2 separate regions of the Homo sapiens genome follow, and region 2 is linked to region 1. Evidence: promoter capture Hi-C in 16 types of primary human blood cells and fetal thymus (Javierre and others, 2016). All regions are on one chromosome and are shown on one strand. The core of a region is centred on a gene start or on the middle of the fragment in contact, and the rest is flanking DNA. Distances in the headings are between cores, read along the strand shown. Region 1 holds the start of HABP4 (hyaluronan binding protein 4). Region 2 holds the start of LOC105376163 (a long non-coding RNA gene).

Region 1 (4,349 bases), core at 876-3,375:
AATCATACAACGTGTGGCCCTTTTTGTCCGTCTTTCACTTAGCACAATGTTTTCAAGTTTCATCCCTGTTGTAACAAGTATCAATACTTCCTTTTTGACCAAATAATATTTTTTGTACCACATTTTATTTATCCATTCATCGGGTGACATGTATATTATTTGTTTCTGTCTTTTGGCTATTGTGAATAGTGCTGCTATGAATACTCATGTACAAGTTTTGGTTTGAACACTTGCTTTTAATTCTTTTGGGTAGAAAGCGTAGGCATTAATCTTTGCTCACTCAAAAGGAGATGACCAAATATCTTAAATTCTTCAATCATTCAACAAATATTTACTGAAAACCTACTCTATAGCTGCTTAGAACGCCAAGCACTGGGAATACATACTGCAGTGAATAAGACAGGCATCATCCCTGTCCTCCTTGGGAATAACACAAAATTCAATAAGTGAGTAACACACAGACTTTACAGCATTTAGGATTAGGAATTCCTTTGCTATTAAGGAAAGTAAAAGCTGGTCACAGAGCACCTGGCAAGATGCTCTAACTGGATGCTTTCGGATGAAACAAGCAAACACAACTAAGCGCAATCACATCTGTCACCTTACATCATAAGCCTCAAGTAGGGAGGTTCCCAAGTGGGTCCAGTCGGCAGCTCAACCTCATCAAGGATCTAGCCTTTCTCTATCCTGCTCTGCCATCCTCATGGCCACGCTAAGGAACAGCCACCCGAGGCATCATGTCTTCTCATGGAACAAAGACCAGGGAACAGAAGGGGGGGAGATCCCTTCTCAATCCCTTGTTAGGTGCAAGAAAAACTTTCCCAGAATACTTCTCAGATCTGTTCTGCCCGATTTGCCCCACAGCCTATTCCTAAGCCAATTACTGGCAAGGAATTGGAATCAGGTGCAATGAATAATGTATGATTAATCAAGTTTGAGGCTGGAAGGGGCCCTCTTCCCCTGGGGAATATGATGCCTGAACAAAATACAGGCTCTGGAAAAATGTAAGAGGGAAAGAACGGCTGTAGGATAGGCAGCCAAGCGTGTCTCCACCGCTGCCTATGCAAAGATTTCCTGGAGGAAGTCCAGTCCGGCGTTCTCTAAGCTCCAGGCCTCAACTGAATATCTCAAAAGAAAACAAATATCCAAACCTCAACGTGTCCCAGACTGAATTAATGATTCCCGTTAAAGTAGTGTCTTCCAGTGGTAACTAATACTATCATTCAGATGCTGGAGCCAGGAAAATAAGAGTCACCGTATCTTCTTCTCCCTCATCACCACCTCTAGCGCATCACCAAGTCTTTGAATCCATCTACTCTCTTCGCCTCCACCGCCACCATCCTAATCCCAGTCACTATCAACTCTTCCCTGGAGCTTTGCAACAATCATGTTTGGCTTCCCAGCATCCATTTGTATTTCCCTCCAAACTATTAGTTCACAGTGCAGGTAGGGTGGCCTTTTCAAACCCAAATCTGCTCATGCTCAAAACTTGCTTCCCACTGCTCTTAGAATAGAGACCACTTTGAGCTTGAATAGGCTGTGCACATCCCACCTCAAGACTGCTGCACTTGCTGTTCCTCCTCCAACCCCTTGTCACCCCTCTCCCTCGGCTTAACTGTCATTTCCCAATTAGGTCAGATCCCTTTGCTGCAGCCCGTAGAGAGCTCTGCGCCTGTCCTTCAGGGCACTTTTTCTCCATCTACAGACTCAGATCTGTGACAACACGGAGCTAGTATTTCCTACAACATAATGCCTGGCACACGGTAAGTGCGCAATATGTAGCTGTTGCACGGCTAAATGTATACATAAGCTTCAAAGCAGAGTGGCCCATAGCAAATACGGTCGCAGTCCCGGGAGAAAGCACACACAGCCGAGACCCCACCGCTTCGTCGGCGCCGCCTGGACCAGCCAGTAGCTCCGCCCCTGGGCCCCGCCCCTCCCTGCTGAGCGAACGGGGCGGGGCCCAGAGGTCGCGTGACGTGACAGCAGCCGGTCGGTGATTGGGTCTCCAGGCGCGCCGTGTCGGAAAGGGGGCGCACCCGCGCGCGCTGACTGGCTGTCTGGCGCAGCGGGGCGGACGGCGGCGGCGCCGCGGGGGCGGGCGCCGGTAGGGGCCGGACAGGGTAGGGCCCGGAGGGCGGTGGCGGCGGAGCGGGCGGCATGGGTCCTGGCCGCCGGCTTCGCTGAGACGCGCTCGCGTGGGCTGCCCTCCCGGGCCCGCAGTGGTCGCGGCGGCATGAAGGGCGCTCTGGGGAGTCCCGTGGCTGCCGCTGGCGCCGCGATGCAGGAGAGTTTCGGCTGCGTGGTGGCCAACCGCTTCCATCAGCTGCTGGACGACGAGTCGGACCCGTTCGACATCCTGCGCGAGGCCGAGCGCCGGCGCCAGCAGCAGCTGCAGCGCAAGAGGCGCGACGAGGCGGCGGCGGCGGCCGGGGCCGGTCCCCGCGGCGGCAGGAGCCCAGCCGGGGCCTCGGGCCACAGAGCCGGCGCGGGCGGCCGGAGGGAGTCGCAGAAGGAGCGCAAGAGCCTCCCGGCGCCCGTCGCTCAGCGGCCCGATAGCCCCGGGGGCGGCCTGCAGGCGCCGGGTACGCGGGGACAGCGGGGTTAGCGGACCACGGCTCGGCCCGCTGTGAGACTGGGGTCCCGGGGGCCGGTTTCAGGAGGAGGGGCCCGGGAACAGTAGGGAGAGTTGAGGGTCCTGGTGGCCGCCGAAGGTAGGAGGAGAGGGGCAGGGGTCACACCCCTTCCAGCTCTCGCCAGCCTCGTGCGGGGCTCCGGGGGAAACGCTGGCTTGGGGTGGGATAGGGCCCTCGAACCCTGGCACTGAGGCTCTACGGCAAGTTGGACGAAGTTGAGGGAGGTTGTCTGGGTGGCGTGTGGGGGCGAACGGCTGAGGTCGCTACCCCGGGGCTCCCACATCCAGACCTGGCGGGGACCTTCATCTTCCAGCCCAGCCTCTGCAAGATTGAGGTCGGAGCCACCCGAGAGCGCGGTGGGGAGGAGGAGGGCGCCTGGTCCCGGGGCTGGGGGCCTCTGTGATGCCGGAGGCCTGGGCGACCGCGGGGCGGCCTGTGACGTCGGGGCCCGGGCGGGGGTCCCCGGCGCGGTCCGGCCTGGCGCCTTCGCCCCTTCTCCGTCCGGTAGCTTCCAGGAGGCAGCCGGCATCGTATTTCAGTACTTCGTGTGGTGTTGATGGGATGTGCAACTTATAAATAGCTCAAGGCTGCTTTAAGAAAAGCGTTTTTAACCTTTCCAGCAAGAATATTCGGAGTTCCCCACTCCCTATTTAGCAAGAAAAACCGGTGCGCAGCGTGGTGTCCTGCTGCCTGTGGACGGGGAGGGTGCTTCAGAGTTCATTCTCTCACCGAACTGCGTCAGTGGCAGAGCCAGCAACACTCCACCTGTGTTTCCTGTTTTCTTGAAATGAGGCAGCGGTCCCAAGGTTTGCAGAGTGTTAGGATTAAGATGTGTAGGTTGACCATTCCTGCCGACGTTTGCCAGTGTGTTCAACTTGGCTTTATTGGTTTGTTCCTTGCTTGATAAAAATTGTGCATCGCAGCCCTGAGGAAACGTCTCAGGTTTAAGTATTAGGGCTTTGATGTGCAGCTGGGTAATGTTTACCTTTATTTGTGAAAAGCTAAATCCAGAGTCATCACTTGAGAATCAAGTCACTACAATAAAGATGTTGAAAATGATTTTTAAAAAAATGTTATTTACTATCTCACGACACTTTGGTAGGCCAGTAAATTTCTGAGCCTATCTAAACAGTGAGACTGGAGATACATTGTGCATTTTATATCCTGTTTTTTATCTTTTTCTCTTAAACTTATTTACATCAATATAATAAAGGAATTGAGGAAGGCTAAGCTTTTCTTCACCCTTTATTTTTTAACAAATGAAAATGCCGGGTGTGGTGGCTCACGCCTGTAATCCCAGCAGTTTGGGAGTCCGAGGCGGGCGGATCACGAGGTTAGGAGATCGAGACCATCCTGGCTAACACGGTGAAATCCCGTCTCTATTACAAATACAAAAAATTAGTCGGGCGTGGTGGCGGGCACCTGTAGGTCCAGCTACTCGGGAGGCTGAGGCAGGAGAATGGCGTGAACCCAGGAGGCGGAGCTTGCAGTGAGCCGAGATCGAGCCACTGTACTCCAGTCTGGGAGAAAGAGCGAGACTCCGTCACAAAAAAAAAAAAAAAAAAATTCTGTGCTTCAGAAAAACGTGAGACGAGTTAGTGCTGTTAATACATTGATTTTTAGCCTTTTTAAAATTGTCATGCATTTTTGTGTTAAGAATTTTAAGCAATTCCAAAATGTATGAGGTTAAGTGAAAATCCTCTTATTTTTCCT
Region 2 (4,349 bases), core at 1,564-4,063, 150 kb after region 1:
TAAACTTTGTGTGGCAAACACAAAGCACTAATCAAGTATAAGCAAATCAAAAGGTAAACGACAAAAAGAAAATACATTTGTAATTCATCACAGATAATAATGTCACTAATACTGAAAGAGCCTAATGCATAAAAATTGGAAACAGCCCAATAGAAAAATGTGCAAAGAATATTTATGGCCAGTTTTCAGAAACTCAACCTATACTCATAAGAGAAATACAAATGAAAACTACATTGAGACTATAATTTTCCAAACATTAGATTGGCAAAAATCTAAAAGTTTGGTAACCTACTTTATTTGTGAAGTGTTTTTTGTTTGTTTTTTGTTTTTTTGAGATGGAGTCTCGCTCTGTCACCCAGGCTGGAGTGCAGTGGCACGATCTTGGCTCATTGCAAGCTCCACCTCCTGGGTTCATGTCATTCGCCTGCCTCAGCCTCCCCAGTAGCTGGGATTACAGGCGCCTGCCACTACACCCAGCTAATTTTTGTATTTTCAGTAGAGACAGGGTTTCACCATCTTGGCCAGGCTGGTTTTGAACTCCTGACCTTGTGATCCACCTGCCTCGGCCTCCCAAAGTGCTGGGATTATAGGTGTGAGCCACTGTGCCCGGCCTATTTGTGAAGTCATTAAAAAAAACTATTCTCATACATTGCTAGTGGGACTGTAAATTGGTAAAGCTTCCATCAAAATTACAAATACATATACCTCTAACTCAGCAGTGCACTTTTGGAATGTCACCCTGATACACATCTGTATATATGTGAAATGACATATATGTCCCAAATTATTGAATACAGCATTTTAATACCTAAAGACAGAAAACAATCCACATGAGTATCAATAAGGGCTTGCTTAAAGATCTTTTGTATATTATAAAGTGAAATTCTATGTAGGTACAAAAAGAATGAGAAAATTCTGTGAAATAAAGTTGAAATCTTTCCAAGATGTATCATATTCCATTAAATCTAAAATGTACTTTTCTCACATTTGAACATCTCTGAAATTATGCCGTATCTTATAATTAGTAACTTACAATTATAATTGGCAGCATTTTTCCTTTCTTAGAAGTACTTAGAGCCGGGTGTGGTGGCTCACACCTGTAATCCCAGCACTTTGGGAGGCCAAGGTGGGCGGATCACCTGAGGTCAGGAGTTCAAGACCAACTTGGCCAACATGGCAAAACCCCATCTCTATTAAAAATACAAAAAATTAGCCAGGCATCATGATGGGTGCCTGTAATCCCAGCTACTCGGGAAGCTGAGGCAGGAGAATCACTTGAACCCAGGAGGCGGAGGTTGCAGTGAGCCGAGATCTCGCCATTGCACTCCAGCCTGGGCAACAAGAGTGAAACTCCGTTTAAAAAAAAAAAAAGGAGAAGAAGTACTCAAAAATAATAGTTACATTCCATTGGATTTTGAAATCAATGAATTATGACATCATCAGTTGAGAACACTAAATGCAGAACCACATGGAGCACATGCTATCTCTCAATTCAAAGAGAATCTGTTTAATGCAATGTAGTGTCCTGGACTGTATCCTGAACAGAACAAAGATACTAATGAAAAACCTGGGGAAATCCAAATAAAATCTGAAGTTTAGTTAATAATTCACAATGATGTTAGCTTCTTAGTGGTGATAAACATGCTACGGCAACATAAGATGCTTTCATTTCAGGAAACCGGGTGAGCTCTCTGTATTATTTCTGTAACTTTTCTTTTGTTTTCTTTTTTTTTTGAGACGGATTCTCACTTTGTCACCAGGCTGGAGTGCAGTGGCGCAGCTCACTGCAACTTCCACCTCCCAGGTTCAAGCGATTCTCCTGCCTCACCCTCCCAAGTAGCTGGGACTACAGGCGCATGCCACCACACCCAACTAATTTTTGTATTTTCAGTAGAAACGGGGTTTCACCACGTTGGCCAGGATGCTCTCAATCTCTTGACCTCGTGATCCATCCACCTTGGCATCCCAAAGTGCTGGGATTACAGGCATGAGCCACCATACCTGGCCGTTATTTCTAAATGTAACTTTTCTATAAATCCAATTTTATTCCAAAATAAAAAGGGTAAAATAATAACTTTTTAAAGAATCTTGGCTGAGCATGATGGCTCTCGCCTGTAATCCCAGCACTTTGGTAGGCCGAGGTGGGAGAATCACTTGAGGCCAGAAGTTTGAGACCAGCCTGCACAACATAACAAGAGCCCATCTCTACCAAAAAAATTATATATATATATATATTTTATGCAAATACATTTTTTAAAAAAATTCTGGAGGGAAATGAGAAATTAAAATCTGTGAGGGATAGCAGGGGTAAGAAGAACTGGACAGATGAGGGCAAGGAGGGGCTGATGAGAGGCTCTTCACTTTATACTTATTCTCAGAACCATGTGAATTTATTTACCTACCAAAATATCAAGTGTAAAAAGTTATTACACTTTTGTGAGGGAGATTAATGGGATAAGGAGAGAGTATTCTAAATAGAGCTTGTGGTTTTTTTTTTTGAGATGGGGTCTAACTCTGTTGCCCAGGCTGGAGTGCAATGGTGCGATCTTGGCTCACTGCAACCTCCACCTCCTGAGTTCGAGCGATTCTCCGGCCTCAGCCTCCTGAGCAGCTGGGATAACAGGTGTGCGCCACCAAGCCCGGCTAATTTTTGTATTTTTAGTAGAGACAGAGTTTTACCATATTGGCCAGGCTGGTCTCAAACTCCTGACCTCAAGTGATCCACCTGCCTCAGCTTCCCAAAGTGCTGGGATTACAGGTGTGAGCCACCGCACCCGGCCTAGCGTTTGTGTTTATAACCTATAAACTATAACAGCAATCCATGGCTTGGCTAGGGATGGTGTCCACAACTCCTAAAATTCTCTACCCAATGTTATGCAAATGAATTTATGTACATTTTTCTCAGTAGAGGATACATAAGGAAACAGATTATTATGCAACCATATAATGGAACAGTATGCATCCACTAAAAAAAGATATCCATGTTTAGAAGTGTTTATGACAATAAAATATTCCACTACATTATATGAAATAGGAAGAAACTAATGATATGATAGTACTTGGAATATTTATCTTGTTGATGTGAAAGTATATGCGACATAGCAAGACTCCCTCTCAAAAAAAAAAGTGTATTTCTCTATAGACATATCTGTGTATCTAAACATGCTCTGAACAATCTAAAAACCTAACTGTGGGGCCAGGTGTGGTGGCTCACACCTGTAATCCCAGCACTTTGTGAGGCCAAGGCAGGCGGATCATGAGGTCAAGAGATTGAGACCATCCTGGCCAACATGGTGAAACTCCGTCTCTACTAAAAATAGAAAAATTAGTTGGGCATGGTGGTGTGCGCCTGTAGTCCCAGCTACTTGGGAGGCTGAGGCAGGAGAATTGCTTGAACCCGGGAGGCAGAGGTTGCAGTGAGCCAAGATTGCACCACTGCACTCCAGCCTGGTGACAGAAAGAGACTCCATCTCAAAAAAAAAACTTACAAAAGGGCCGGGCGTGGCACACCTGTAGTAAACCCAGCACTTTGGGAGGCCGAGGCGGCAGATCACTTGAGGTCAGGAGTTTGAGACCAGCCTGGGCAACATGGTGAAACCCCATCTACTAAAACTACAAAAATTAGCCGGGTGTGGTGGCAGGCGCCTGCAGTCCCAGCTACTCGGGAAGCTGAGGCAGGAGAATCACTTGAACCCAGGAGGTGGGGGTTTGCAGTGAGCTGAGGGCGCACCACTGCACTCCAGCCTGGGCGACAGAGCAAGACGCTGTCTCGAAAAAAAAAAAAAAAAAAAAATTGGGAGGCCGAGGTGGGCTGATCACAAGGTCAGGAGATCGAGACCATCCTGGCTAACACAGTGAAATCCCATCTCCACTAAAAATACAAAAAATTAGCTGGGCATGGTGGTGGGTGCCTGTAACCCCAGCTACTCAGGAGGCTGAGGCAGGAGAATGGCGTGAACCCAGGAGGCGGAGCTTTCAGTGAGCCAGGATCGCGCCACTGCACTCCAGCCTGGACGACAGAGCGAGACTCAGTCTCAAAAACAAAAACAAAAACAAAAACAAAACAAAACAAAAACTAACTGTGGTAGTCATTAGTGCTGTTCACCAAATATTTCTGGCCTGTTGGATGGAACCATTTGATTACTTCTGGCCTGTGAGCTATGAGTGGAAAAAGGCATCTAAATGTTAATTCCAGACCTTCCACAGCTCTTTTCCCTCTGCACAGGGACCAGCAATACTGAGAAGATGCTGCTCATCAGCCCATGTCCCCAAGCAGTCACAACAAGCACAGTTCCCTGCTGAAGCACAGCACCTCTGCAAAAAAGAATTACGTCTGTATTTTCAGCTGC

What was found. The method cuts DNA at HindIII sites, captures the fragments that hold promoters and counts their contacts. A CHiCAGO score of 5 or more calls a contact.
Region 2: a contact is called between a fragment that was not itself captured here and the fragment with the promoter of HABP4 in region 1, in 1 of 17 cell types (megakaryocytes). The highest score is 5.8, in megakaryocytes.

Annotation. Positions count from the first base shown.
Region 1 is chr9:96,448,044-96,452,392 of GRCh38, forward strand. It overlaps HABP4 (hyaluronan binding protein 4), which reads left to right and starts at 2,126. Exons shown (of 8, transcript NM_014282.4): 1 at 2,126-2,585. The coding sequence starts at 2,237. RefSeq lists an enhancer at 1,544-1,623 and silencers at 1,904-2,443, 2,454-2,513, 2,594-2,643. The HindIII fragment of the contact is 2,057 bases long and covers 1,809-3,865 here.
Region 2 is chr9:96,598,023-96,602,371 of GRCh38, forward strand. All of the region lies in intron 1 of CDC14B (cell division cycle 14B), which reads right to left. It overlaps LOC105376163 (a long non-coding RNA gene), which reads left to right and starts at 1,595. Exons shown (of 4, transcript XR_001746853.2): 1 at 1,595-1,682. The HindIII fragment of the contact is 4,276 bases long and covers 676-4,349 here.